3 separate regions of the Homo sapiens genome follow, and all the other regions are linked to region 2. Evidence: promoter capture Hi-C in 16 types of primary human blood cells and fetal thymus (Javierre and others, 2016). All regions are on one chromosome and are shown on one strand. The core of a region is centred on a gene start or on the middle of the fragment in contact, and the rest is flanking DNA. Distances in the headings are between cores, read along the strand shown. Region 1 holds the start of MYOZ3 (myozenin 3). Region 2 holds the start of GPX3 (glutathione peroxidase 3). Region 3 overlaps NDST1 (N-deacetylase and N-sulfotransferase 1).

Evidence for each region. Contacts are between HindIII fragments. The CHiCAGO score rates a contact against its expected background, and 5 or more counts as called.
Region 1: a contact is called between the fragment with the promoter of MYOZ3 here and the fragment with the promoter of GPX3 in region 2, in 1 of 17 cell types (naive CD8 T cells). The highest score is 5.9, in naive CD8 T cells.
Region 3: a fragment that was not itself captured here is called in contact with the fragment with the promoter of GPX3 in region 2 in 1 of 17 cell types (total CD8 T cells); the score reaches 6.2 in total CD8 T cells.

Annotation. Positions count from the first base shown.
Region 1 is chr5:150,658,409-150,662,822 of GRCh38, forward strand. MYOZ3 (myozenin 3) reads left to right here and starts at 2,843. Exons shown (of 7, transcript NM_001122853.3): 1 at 2,843-3,019. It overlaps SYNPO (synaptopodin), which reads left to right. Exons shown (of 3, transcript NM_007286.6): 3 at 1-799. The HindIII fragment of the contact is 2,456 bases long and covers 2,298-4,414 here.
Region 2 is chr5:151,018,731-151,023,573 of GRCh38, forward strand. It overlaps GPX3 (glutathione peroxidase 3), which reads left to right and starts at 1,861. Exons shown (of 5, transcript NM_002084.5): 1 at 1,861-2,011. The coding sequence starts at 1,925. RefSeq lists an enhancer at 3,306-4,505. The HindIII fragment of the contact is 15,890 bases long and covers 1-4,843 here.
Region 3 is chr5:150,550,944-150,555,366 of GRCh38, forward strand. NDST1 (N-deacetylase and N-sulfotransferase 1) reads left to right here. Exons shown (of 15, transcript NM_001543.5): 14 at 810-912; 15 at 2,270-4,423. The coding sequence ends at 2,389. Among named protein-coding and RNA genes, the nearest start is that of NDST1, 45 kb to the left of the region's middle. The HindIII fragment of the contact is 5,776 bases long and covers 1-4,423 here.

The DNA of each region.
Region 1 (4,414 bases), core at 1,593-4,092, 360 kb before region 2:
CACTCTGACCTAGCTAGTGCCTGGTGCCCAGTGACCTGGGGGAGCCTGGCTGCAGGCCCTCACTGGTTCCCTAAACCTTGGTGGCTGTGATTCAGGTCCCCAGGGGGGACTCAGGGAGGAATATGGCTGAGTTCTGTAGTTTCCAGAGTTGGCTGGTAGAGCCTTCTAGAGGTTCAGAATATTAGCTTCAGGATCAGCTGGGGGTATGGAATTGGCTGAGGATCAAACGTATGTAGGTGAAAGGATACCAGGATGTTGCTAAAGGTGAGGGACAGTTTGGGTTTGGGACTTACCGGGGTGATGTTAGATCTGGAACCCCCAAGTGAGGCTGGAGGGAGTTAAGGTCAGTATGGAAGATAGGGTTGGGACAGGGTGCTTTGGAATGAAAGAGTGACCTTAGAGGGCTCCTTGGGCCTCAGGAATGCTCCTGCTGCTGTGAAGATGAGAAGGTGCTCTTACTCAGTTAATGATGAGTGACTATATTTACCAAAGCCCCTACCTGCTGCTGGGTCCCTTGTAGCACAGGAGACTGGGGCTAAGGGCCCCTCCCAGGGAAGGGACACCATCAGGCCTCTGGCTGAGGCAGTAGCATAGAGGATCCATTTCTACCTGCATTTCCCAGAGGACTAGCAGGAGGCAGCCTTGAGAAACCGGCAGTTCCCAAGCCAGCGCCTGGCTGTTCTCTCATTGTCACTGCCCTCTCCCCAACCTCTCCTCTAACCCACTAGAGATTGCCTGTGTCCTGCCTCTTGCCTCTTGTAGAATGCAGCTCTGGCCCTCAATAAATGCTTCCTGCATTCTTCTGCCTCCTGTGTCATTTTCAGCTGTGTCTGATGTCCTTCCCTTCTCCCCAAGCATGGAGCAGTCCATGGGACTCTGGGTGGCTGGGAATATTTGAGACATATGGGATGGGAGCTTGGGAAGAAGCAGCCATGGGGAGAGATGGGAACAACGGACAACTTGAGGCCATAGAAGTACCTGGACTGCAGTCCTGGTCCTGTCATGGACGAGCGGGGTGACCCTGGGTGAGCCCACTCCTTCTCTAGGCCTCAGCTTCCCCATCCGTATAATGGGGAGAGTGGGTCTAGGTAATGTCTCAGGGTGGTATTGTCCAGGCCCTGACCACAGAGCACTATCACCAGAGTGGGCAGGGCCAAGCTGGGTCAGGGCTCTGTGCTCTGAGGCTGTTTCCTCATGGCAGGTGGGGGTGCCAGGGCAGGAAAGGCGCCACTGTAAGAGGTCCCGTCTGAGCCAGGCAGCCCCAGTGAGGCAAGGACTCGGGCCATGAGGCATCCTCTCCTGGCAGGAGTGTCCTTTGGCCAGAGAAGGGGATTGTGATCCTGCTCCCAGGTGAGGCTAAGCTTGCCCTGGGAACACACCTCACTCTTCCTCTCTAGAAGCTCAGGCCCACCGAGGGCCAGGAAGCTAAGGTCAGGGTGGTGGACAGCAGAATCTAGGCTTCTGATTTGAGAGGTGTCAGAAATACACCCCAGGATAGTCTGCCAGCACACAGACACCGGTGGTCCCCACCCTGCACCCAGCCCATCCTTGCTAGGCCCACCCTTCCCCAGGAGTGTGTGCCTTGGACCCAATCTTTATCTTCGGCTGGGGCCTCACTGCAGCACAGTGTCCCATTGCCTACTGGTGATCTCATCCCAGTCCCCCGACACCTCAAAGTTCATCCAAAACTGACCTCAGTGTCTGCCCCCACCCCTCCTGCTCCTCCCCTTCCAGTCACCCAAGCATGAAACAGGGGAGTGGGACTCCCTTTCCTCACCTTCCACATCCAGTTCCTCACCAAGACCCAAGGGTTCTTCAAATAACCCTCAACTCCCTCTCCTCTCCATCTCCTTGTCACTGCCCTGATCCAGCCACCCCTGGTGACAGTCAGGTCCTCCTGCCTCCAGTCTGGCCCCCTCCAACCCATTTCCCACATGGCAGCAAAGATATCTTTGGAAAATGCCAATCCGATCACTCCATTTCACCACTTTAATCTTGTCAGCAACCCTTTATAAACACAGTTTCCTTTTGAAAGCCTGCTGGGATCTGGCCGCTGCCCCCACTGTCTGGGCTAATCTCTCAGCACTGCCCCCAGCTCCGGCTCTACTTGCCAACCCCCTACCCATCTTTGTAGGTGACATGTCCACTGCCTGCCATGCCCCTTCTCTGCCCAGTGAACTCCCACTCATCCTTCAAGGCCCAACTCCAGTGTGTCCTCCTCTGGGAAGCCTTCTCACCCCCCACCCCAGGCTGAGCTGGTAACTCCCTCCCCTGGGCTCTCCCAGAGCCTTCCCCAAAGCTTGTTTACCCGTCTGAATCTGACCTGGCTGAGCTCCTTGAAGACAGAGCCCTGCCTTATTTATTTTCAGTCCTTAGAGAGAGGCTCAGGGAATGTGAGAAGGTAGAGGGAGGGAGGGAGGGAGGGAGGAGGGGAGAAAAGAAGGCAGGCAGGAAGGAGGCAGAAGAAGAAAGGCAGGAGAGAAGAAAGGAAGGAAGAAAAGGATAAGTCAAGCAAAGATATTGAGGAGCAATTCATTCATCCATCTATCTATCCATCCATTCCTTCCTTCGACAAATATCTGCTGAGTTCCTATCAAGCACCATTCTTGGCACTAAGGATATAACAGTTAACAAGCGGAAGCTACCAGCAGCTGACCCTCAACATTTCCAGGTGACTTTGGTGTGTGCATATGTGAGTGTGTGTGTACACGTGGGTGCAAGCCCTCTGTCTGCACAGGCCTGTTGCCAGGGCACCTGTCTTCCCTAGGGTCTGGTGCTTTTAGCCTCTGGCTCCAGCTCCTATTGCAGCCCGAAATAAGGCTGTGACCCATGGCAAGGCAGGAATGATTCTCATCAGCTGAAGCCAGAGCTGGCTGCAGGGGACACCCTGCTCGCTGCCTACTGACTGCTGACCGCTGACTGCCTACAGGGACGCCACGCAACTCTCAGCTTCCCGACAGAGGTGTTAATCTTGAGGGTCTAAGATTCCCTCCTGCCTATTGTGGTCCCATCCTCTCAGGTACCAGCATCCTAGGGGAGCTTGGGGAACTCAGGGGAGTGGGCAGAGGAGGTGAGCCAATCCCCAGAGCTCCTTCCCCCGGAGAGGAAGGGCCCTGCAGTGGATCTAGGGAGTTTGGGGCCCCATGCAAGCCTCGATCCTGGTTTGGGAGGAGAGGAACTCTAAGCTCTAGGTTACCCTGCATTAAATGGGGAGGGTGTGGCTAGGATTAAAGGTGGGGAATAGGTAATGGCTCTGCTCAGGACTTTGGGATTTTTAGGCAGTAGAGGGAAGCAGCTTCTCTGTAAAATGAGAGACCCTTCCCAGCATCTGTGAATTTCTGTAAAGGGAGTGTTTATCAAGAAACAGATCTGTGGACTGTGGAATCCTAAACGGTTGTGATCGAGGCATTCTCAATCATCCCATGACCCTCACCCCAAATGCATGTAGACACACTCATGTTTACGTATAGTTTTAGGGGGTTTGTGAACACCCTAAAGCCCATCCATGGATCTCTGTGATTTAGCCTAACCCCCTACTGTTACAGATGGGGGAACTGAGGTGCAGAGCTGGAAAGCTACTTGTTCGCAGTTACAGAGAAAGCCAGGGACACCCACTAGACTCCAGTTGCACAATGCAGTGCCCACTGACTCCCAGGGCCCCTTGTCGGTGTTGGGGATACAGATGAAGGCAGATTGTTTTCTAAAGGAAGGAGTATAGGAAAACCTGGAGGCAAAGGAGAAGGGTACCCAGGTGGGTGGTCAGTCGAGGAGCTCAAGGGCTCTGCCTCTTCTCCAGAGGGCAAGTTAAGGTACCTGGGCAAGTTAAGGGCTCTGGACCTCATTTTATTTGCAAATCTCTTCCAAGATTCTTTGAAAGTGCCATGAGATACAAATAGGGGGATGGAACAGGAGGAAGAGAAGGGACGAGGGAGAAGAGAACACCACGGAAGTTAGCCCAGTAGCGGGGAGATGGGGAGGACGGGGGATGGTTCTCTCTGCTTGGTTGGACCAGCCTGTGCCCTCAAGCGTCAGGGCCAAGTGCCAAGGATGAAAGGGGCTCACCAGCCTTGCAGACCCCAGTGTAACCCCAACCTAGTCCATCCTCCCCCTTCCCCTAACTTAAACCTCCAACTTCTTTCAGCCTTGGACTAGGACTCTCCTGGGTCAACCGATGACAGTAGTGCCTGAGACCTTTGCCTGCCCCACCCGGATGCCCCTGGCACCTACTCTCCCTCTGATCAGGATGCCAGAGCTGGGAAAAGGCCCTAGAAACCACCCCTGAAGAGACAGTGCTTCCCTAGCAACATGAAAATAGATTCGTGCAAACTTGAGCACCTCCCTCTCGTTCCCTGGGCCTCAGTCTCCTCTGCACGGAGACCCTGAAGTCCCTTCCAGCTCAGACATCCCTTGCTTG
Region 2 (4,843 bases), core at 611-3,110:
TCTGACAAACTGATGTGCACACAGATGTTTATATTTTAGGGTAAATACGAACCTTAAAAGACAACAGAACAACATGGAGAGGGCCTGAGACTGAGTCTAGAGACCTGGATTCTGGTTCCCTCCCTGCCATCAGTTGGTTATGGGAACTTGGATAAATTGCTCCTCATCTCTAGGCTTCAGGGAAATGAGGTGGTTGAATAAAACGTATTGAGCACTTACTGTGTGTCAGCCATTGTTCATATGCTCCCAGGCTTTAACTCAGCTAAAGACTTCCTGGCCTCTGTGGTTCCTTCCACTTCAACAGGCTGTGGTTTGAGGTGGGAAGACTTCGTAGAGAATGCAAAACTTGAGAGACATCTTCCAAATTCCCAGGGGGATGTTAATACCTTTAATCATAGTAAAGGTATGGTTTCTCAAGGCATTTCTTGGTCAGAAGAAAGTTCCAGAAGGCACTTAATCCTAGGACTCACACTACCAAGGCTACAGCCAGGCCAACTGCCTCACAATAACCTTAGAACATGTCTGAAGACAGATTTTCAGCTTCTGCCCCTAGAGATTCTAATGCAGTGATTCCAAAGTGGGGTCCAGGAATCTGTATTAAAGGCTTCCCAGTTGACTCTGGTGGTCAGAGAGATTTGAGACTGATTCCATCACATTCCCCATCTGTGAACGGGATCATACCTAGACAGCCCAGCCCTAGAACTGCCTGGTCTGATCCTAAGTGTTCCATGGAGATTTTGTTTTTTTAATGTAATGAATGATTAAGTCAGCAAATACTTTACATCTCTTGTGTGCTAGGCCCTGTGCCAGGTGGTGATTATGGGCCCTATTCTCAAAGGACTCCTGGTCTCCGTCTGTCACTTACTTTAGAAACAAGTCATCTAGCCAGAGCCAGAAGGGCACTGGAGATCACTAATCAATCCCATCATTACATAGCTGAGGAAACTGAGGCCCAGAGAGTAACTGCAACATGTTAAAGACTACACAGGGAGCAAATTTATTTTCTGCTTCTAAGCCAGGTGGTTTGGCCACAGATAGGCCAAGAAGAATACGAACAGACAAGCCTTGCTGGGTTTCCCACTCAGTTTATTACTATTAGACCATTCCCTTTTTCCCCACTCACATTTCTGCGCATTTCCATGGTCTTCATAGAATCTAAGCCTAAAAATAGAGTTTTCCTTGAGTCTTTGGGTCTTCATTTCTGAAGACTCTCATGTCACAGAAAACTTTAATTAAATAAATCGTTATGCTTTTCTCTTGCTAACCTTTTTCTACAGGCATGTCAGCTGTGATCCTTATGATGGGGAGGAAAGGCACCCCACCTTCTCTGTCCCTACAGTCCTAATGCCCTACCCAGAATGGGGTTTTCAAAATCCCAGGACACCCACTCTTTGTTTCTTAAGCACTAAACCTATATATAGTAAATGTTTCTGGAAGTTTAACTTCAGCTCTTGCTGAAATTTTAAACCCTCAATTTCCAGAGGACCATCGCCAGGTGTTTTTAAAACCTCGATAGGAATAAGAAATGCTTCCCAGAATGGAGACTTCCATCAGTTCTAGGGAGCTATTAGCCCCCTTGCCCTGGCTGTAATGGAGACCGCTGTGTCTGCCTCCTTTCGCACTTTGGAGCCAAAAGAGGAAGGGACCGCCTCCCACGTCCACAGGGACCTGACTTCCACCTCTCTGCCCAGATTTGCTTATGTCACTGTCGCCCCGGGACGGGGAGGTGGGGAGCTGAGGGCAAGTCGCGCCCGCCCCTGAAATCCCAGCCGCCTAGCGATTGGCTGCAAGGGTCTCGGCTTGGCCGCGGATTGGTCACACCCGAGGGCTTGAAAGGTGGCTGGGAGCGCCGGACACCTCAGACGGACGGTGGCCAGGGATCAGGCAGCGGCTCAGGCGACCCTGAGTGTGCCCCCACCCCGCCATGGCCCGGCTGCTGCAGGCGTCCTGCCTGCTTTCCCTGCTCCTGGCCGGCTTCGTCTCGCAGAGCCGGGGACAAGAGAAGTCGAAGGTGAGTGAGCCTCCGGGCCGGGGGCCGGGAGAAAAAACCTAGCCCCTCGGTGTCCAGCGCTCAGTGCAATGCACCCCTTTTCCCAGGCTCCCCGCCAGATGGGCAATCCCCAGGTGCGAGAGACCTCCTGAACCCCTTTTGCCGCCCCCTCCGCCGCCGGGACCCCGCCCCCGACCGTCGTCGTCTCGTAGTTCCATCTGTTGGAGAGCCGAGACCTGGTGCTTCAGGCGGGCAGAATGACTAAGGGAGGAAGGTCTCTCTCCCCGAGCTCGCACTTTCTCCCCACTGCCACCTCGAGGGTCGCCTTGCTACATCTATGTCACCTCCGTGCCTGAGCTGCTCCCCTTCAGTAGGGCCTAAGAGGGAGGGCGTCACAGAAAAAAATGCCCAGCGTCTGGGTGGGCTGTGCAAGTTCCCAGGGAGAGAGACAAGGAGAAAGGAGAGAGGCAGCTGGGTGGTCCTGGTCCTGAAGAACTGCTGTGGGGGGCTCTTCTACCCCAAGAATGATACAGGCAGGTAGAAATGGCCACTTGGATTCAGGGCATTGGTAGAAGAGGCAGAGATCTGTGCTAGAAAGAGCTCTGGAGTGACAGTGCAGAACACTCAGGACCCTGAGTCCTTACCTGCTCCTGGACCCCCGTTTCTCCATCTGCAGGGGAGAGTTTGGGGGTGGGAGTGCATGGGGCACAATGAAGCTGAGGGCCTCAGAGGGGATGCTTGGAGAAGCTGAAAAATCCACAAGCTGTTCTCTGAAATTTCCTCCCCTGGGGCAGCCTCACTACCCAGGACCCACTGTCCTCATTAGCCTGAGGAAACCTGGTAGTTGGAGAAAGCTGGGGACTGCTAATTCAGAAGAAGAGGTAGAATTCTCTAGAGCCTCAGTCTATTTCCAGCAGGTGTGTGGCCCACACCTGGAGTGGGGATACTGAGGCCAGGAGTGGGATGACCCAGCATGCTTATCTCCTTTGACAGTATGTACTGGGGTGGGCTCTGTAGACCTCTCCTCTACCCAGGGAGTGGGAGTGGGTGGGGAAGGAGGCAGAAGCCAGGTGTAGGGATAGACTCAAAGCGAGCGATTTCTGTCTCCAACTTCCCAACATGCATAACTCACATTTTTGCAAGCTCTGAGCTTTTGTTTCTAAAATCCTCTGGGTCTTCACTTTAATTAAGTTCTTATGAGTCTAGGATTCCGTTTCCAAAATTCTGTCCACTTCTCAGGAAGCCCATTGGAAGCACAGGGTTCCTTCCATGTTACTCACCCCTTTTCGGTCCTCAGCCTAAATCCGATTAATCAGCCTCTCCTTGGAGTCAGTCTAAATGGATGTGAAGCCACTTCGTCCAAGTCCCCTCCTTTTTATCCATCCCTGTTCATAATCCCCAACTCAGAAGGCATTTTCCAGGTCAGGAATGGGATCGATTTTCAACATTGAGGTTTGGGGTGGGCCATAGACAGGCCAGCACCGTGGAGTCAGTCCCAACCTTCAGTTTTGGAAAGGTCAAAGAAGATACAATTGGGCCCTGCCTCAAGAAGGCTAGTGGGGAGAACGTGGACTCCATGAATAACTCATCATAGCTGTGTCTTCTCTGCAGCACTCTGGGGAAGGATAAATGGACTCAGAGAGAATAGGATGGGGATGGTCTAGAAAAGTTTTAGGGTGAGGTGTGATCATATCACATACAACCAGTCAGGACTTGCTGGCTAATGAAAGCCTGGGCATGCCCATCTCTGCTCCCAAGTTCTTAGAGTTCAGATGTCTTAGCTCTGGGTTAGGACCCAACCACTCACCTTACCCCCAACCCCAGGGTAAAGAGATAGGGTTATGGGGCATGTGGAGAATGGAATGGACGAAAGGTGACTCAGCCCCAGAGAGGTGTTTTCCTCCTACCAATTGAAAGGGAGATGCTAGGGAAGAGACCAGGTCCTCCTCTTCTTGCTGCGTCACCTCCCCAGTCCAACTTCAGGCTGCCCACGCTCCTTGTCTCTACAAAAGGACTGCAGAAGCCGGAAAGAGTGACAACTGCTGACGTGCACGGGATCCTAGTAACTGCTGGTTTCTAGGTGACTAAACCTGGCAGAGAGAATCATGGAACCACAGGCTGACAGAGTTAAAGGGCCCTTAAGACAGCCCTGAACCTGACTCCATCTTACAATGGAGGAGCTGGAGCCCCAGCAAAGGGGGTCACATGGCATCAGAGACACAGCAAAGCCCAGCACTCAGGTCTCCTGACTCCCAGACCACTTCTCACAGCATCATATTGATAGGAGTAATAAGACGGGAGAGGAGAAAGACACAAGACCAGCAGCCCCAGCCAGCCAGAGTCCTGGCTGAGTCCCATCATCCAACTCTCAAGCCATTGGAACCCTCTTCTCTTGCCCGGCTGTGGGAGGATTCAGGCACCCTCATGGCCTCTCCCCTTATCTCCTCTGGCCACTGTTTCAGATGCGGTGCTCTGGGATTCCACGTGCCCAGAGAAGGGAAGGGGGCTCATAGAGGACTGAGTTGCAGTGATCAGTGGTGAGCACAGCCGTGGCTCTCCACCCATGGGCCACCTTCTGACCCCCACTATCCCTTGACATGAGATTTCGTTCCAAGAGACTCCAGGCCTGTTTTGCTCTGCCAGCAGATTCCCACAACCATTTTGGGCAGCAGCATGCTTATCTCCCTGGACATATGCCCAGACAGTGTAAGTGACTTGCTCAGGGCCACACAGCCAGCAAAAAATAGAACCTAATGAAATAGGGTTCTCCTTGCCACACCCCCAAGCTGAAACTGTGCCCAGAAGCTGGTCCTTCTGTTTACAAGTTCCCATTATTAGGACAACCTGTAATCT
Region 3 (4,423 bases), core at 1,590-4,089, 470 kb before region 2:
AATAAACGGTAGCTGCTATTGTCCTTGTCATCATCATCATCACCATCATCATCGTCATCGTCTATACCTATCCTATGACCCTTTCAGAAATCTCTGTTCTCCTTCGCTATTCATGGGAATTCTGTTTTCTTGATGCCCTCATGCTCAAGAATCTCCTCATAGTTCCTCATCCAGGGCTAAATTCTGATGTCAGTATTCCTCCCTTCCCATAACAGCTTCGGATCTCATATCCCAAAAATGCCTTTGAAGACAGGATGATGTTGGCAGTCTTGCTGTGTCATTTCTGAAGTTTACTCCAAAAAATGAAATTCTCCAGTGACAGGCATGCTTAAGTGCAGCTGTGGATACTGCATGTTTTGATAAAGATGAAATTTATTAAAAAGCAAAAGAACCTCCACTAAACACCCCTCTTCCCATTGACGCTGGGAGGGGTAAAGAAGGCTTCTTGGGTTTAAAAAAAAAAAAGAGTTACTCAGCATTGAGAATGCTCAGAAAAGATTTCCCAGAACACTGAAGGATGGGAAACTGTTCATGTTGTAGATTGCTGAAGCGGCTGTGGCTGGTCGGGCTGGAGGAGAGAAGACTCAGAATGTGCGAGCTGCCCTTTGCCGGAAGTAGGACAGGCACGTTTAGTGCAGCCTAGGACACATTTGATCCCACAGATGGCACATAGCTTCTGACAGTCCATGTGGGTTCAAGAGCAGTAGATTCCCTGGTCTCTGCCATTCCTGGGGTCCATGAACATGGCTTTAAGGTCGGAAGTGGGTGGCTGAGCCAGCTCCCATCCAAAGACTTTCCCACCTCCACAGGTTTGATCCAAAGAAAGGATTTTGGTGCCAACTGCTTGAAGGAGGAAAAACCAAGTGTCTGGGCAAAAGCAAGGGCCGGAAATATCCCGAGATGGACTTGGATGTAAGTGGTGGACACACTACCTGTAGCACCTGCATAAGGGTAAGGGGTCCCTGTATGGAGTTGAGGGGGATTCTCTTTCCTTTACCATGCACTCAGCATGTTCATGGCCTTAGCATTTCTTGGACAGTATTTGTAAGAGGAGGAAAATGGGGGCTGGGACATGGTGGGTCAGACCTGATTTCGTCAAACAAGTGTTGGTTACCTTCTACTAAGGGCTGAGTGCTGTGGGGTTTTGAGGATGAGCCAGACATGTTCTCTGCCTTCAAGGAACTCCTGGTCTTGGAGGGGTATGAGTCCCAACACCACTAAGTAGAATACAGGCAGAGAGTGCTGCGCGCAGTCAGAGAGGGCACACAAGTGCTATGGGAATTCAGAACAAGGGGATGTCACTTGAACCTGAGAGGGGTAAAAAAGGCTCCTTAAAGGAGGGATGGGGGTCTCTGGAGTTGCGCCTAGAAGGATGAGATCCATTTTGTAGGATTTGGACATATGGAATGGGAGGGTAGGTAAGAACAGCATGTGTAAAACCATAGGGGGAAAAAAGAAATTTTAAAAATATATAGAAAAAGGGTCACAGACTGGGGGTCTTGTTACTTCCTCCTTTTCCTACTTGCTTCTGTTTTTGTTTTGTTTTGTTTTGTTTTGTTTTTGAGACAGGGTCTCGTTCTGTTGCCTAGGCTGGAGTGCAGTGGCATGATCATGGCTCACAGTAGCCTCGACCCCCTGGGCTCAATCGATCTTCCCGCCTCAGCCTGCCATAGTGCTGGTATTATAGGTGTGAACCACCGTGCCTGGCCCTGGCCCTGCCCGCCTTGGGTTTTGATTATTAATTCTCTCTCCTCTCCCTATCAGAAGAATTTTGACTTAGTGAGCTATATTTTGATGCTCCTGCCAACTGGGAGTTCACTATTGGAGGCTACCATTTAGAAGGAGATTGTGGATAAATAAGAGGTGTATGGGGGGTGGTGCCAGCAGCATGGTGGGTTTTTTGTTTTTTTGTTTTCTTTTGAGACGGAGTTTCGCTTTTGTCACCCAGGCTGGAGTGCAATCGCGTGATCTTGGCTCACTGCAACCTCCGCTTTCCGGGTTCAAAAGATTCTCTTGCCTCAGACTCCCGAGTAGCTGGGATTACTGGCGCCCACCACCTCACCCCGCTAATTTTTGTATTTTTAGTAGGGTTTTCCCATGTTGGCCAGGCTGGTCTTGAACTCCTGACCTCAGGTGATCCACATGCCTCGGCCTCCCAAAGTGCTGGGATTACAGGCATGAGCCACCGTGCCCGGCCGAGCATGGCGATTTTTAGAGGAGGTCACTCTTAAGTCAGTACACAAGGTCTGAGCTTTCCTTCCCGTTACAGTCCCGAGCCTTCCTGAAGGACTATTACCGGGACCACAACATCGAGCTCTCCAAGCTGCTGTATAAGATGGGCCAGACACTTCCCACTTGGCTACGAGAGGACCTCCAGAACACCAGGTAGCCGTGGCCACCACAGCCAGACTGAACGTTTGTGAAAGCTGGGACATCCCACCACACGCTGAGCCAGACCTGCAGAGTGGGAAGCTGGACCAGGGCAGCTGCGCACTTATGAGCAATACTCTGTGGAGGTCTGGTGGGGCTGGGGGAGCACCCAGGCGGATCTGCAAGCACCTCGGAGCACCCACCGCTGGGTCTGCGGCCTAAGGGACCTCCCTCGCCAGCAGAGGTCCATTCCGTTCCCAGCTGCTCCTGGGGAGGCCGCTTCCTGGTAGGAGGGAGTCCACGAGACTCTTTTCTGTCCCTCACTGTGTTCCGCCGACTGTCCCCTCTCGTCACCCATCACTCCCTGCTTCCGCAGGGCGCCCCTCAGTATTCGCTGCCATATGTCCCTGTCCTCCAGGCTGTAGGGGAGGAGAGCCTGGCCGGGGGAGACAGACTGGACATTTCCCTGTTTCGAGCCAGGCTCTTCCAAGGGGCCAGCTGGGTCCCCGGAGTCAGTCCTAGGCTGGATGGGAGGGTGGCCCCCTCAAGAGGACTCCCAGCCTCCACATCTGGTTCCTACCTTCACATCTCACCCTCCCGTTCTGGGGAAGAATTTCTGGTTCCTACAGTATCCACTCCATCCTCAAGGCTTCCCGCAGGGCCTTGGGGCACTGCCTTGCCATCGGGCCCAGTTCTCCGGGCCCCACCTGCACCCCTTTCTTCCCCCTGGGATATGATGTGTGGTGTTTCCTGTGGTAAAAGACTGAGGCAGGCCAGGGGTCTGCCAGTAACATGTTCCCATGTACAGACACGGTCCCCACACCCTCCCAGCCTCAGGCCCAGGCAGACATGGGCGAGCTGGTGAGACTGCCAGCCACGGCTTTGCTTAGCCACCTGTGGCCGAGGGCTCTCAGAGACCCCCTTAACCTCCCAAATACTAAGAAGCTAAAATATTTTAATATTTTGTTTTTTTTTTTCTTGGTGCCAGAGTTTATACCCTGGGTGCTGGGGTCGCACTGTGTTATATATATATATATATATATATAATGTGTATATATATATATTCTATTTTTTTTGGTTGGGTTCGTTTTTAATTCAGTCCTACAAAATGGTGGTAAGCCCCAGTCTCAGGGGTCACCCTGTCTTAGAGCTAGAGATGAGGTGGCAGGGAGGGAGGCTGTGTCCTCAGTGGCCTGGGGCTGAGCAGACCTTAGGAAGGGGCCCTCCCCAGTGCCGTGGCTGCTCTGGGGCTACCCCAGGTGAACAGAGGTGGTGAGATGCGCAGGGAAGACCAGCTCTCTCCAGGACATCGGGCTGCGTGAAGTCCAGTGACCCTGAGGGGATTTTGGCCAAAGGAAACAGCCAGGGCTGGGCTAGGAGAGCTGGGGTCAAAAGCTGCCCCACCCACTCTCCCTCACATGGTGCTAGGCTGGGAGCTGCCCTGAGAGCTGGGATGCCCACCAAGGCCCACAGAACTGTCTCCAGGCCCTTGTAGACAGTGGGATCTCTGGGCTGATTTCTGGTTGGGGTCTGCTCCTACCCCACCCCATTTAACAATGTGAAGTGACTGAGGCTGGGGTGCCTCTCCCTGGCCCCCTCCAACTGCCAAATTCTGCTTCCCTCTGAACCCCAGGAAATACTTTCTGGAGAGGCTTGTCTTGTTCAGAAGACTCTAGCATCTTGGGGCTGGAAGGTCCTTTGACGGGTATGAAACAGGTCCAGAAAGGGGAGGTGGCCTGCTTGGCCGACGTCATGGAGCCAGCTGGGAGCAGGGCTGAGCGTTGAACCCGAGGCTCCCGGTTCCAAGTCCCATCGTGCTCCTCTTCCAATGCCACACTGCCTCTGAGCCCATCCTTGGGACCCTACTCTGTGCCAGGTTCCTGTCCCTTCCTCCGTCACAGCATGGTCATTCCAGGATATGGGGACAAACCACTCCTTCCCAGCCAGGGTGCCTTTGAGCCTTCTCATTCCGAGGTCTGCGTTTGCATCCCTGTCGTGTTCTCCCTCGAGGGGTCCTTCCCCAGCCTGTGGGGGCCTGGGTCTGTTCTGAGCT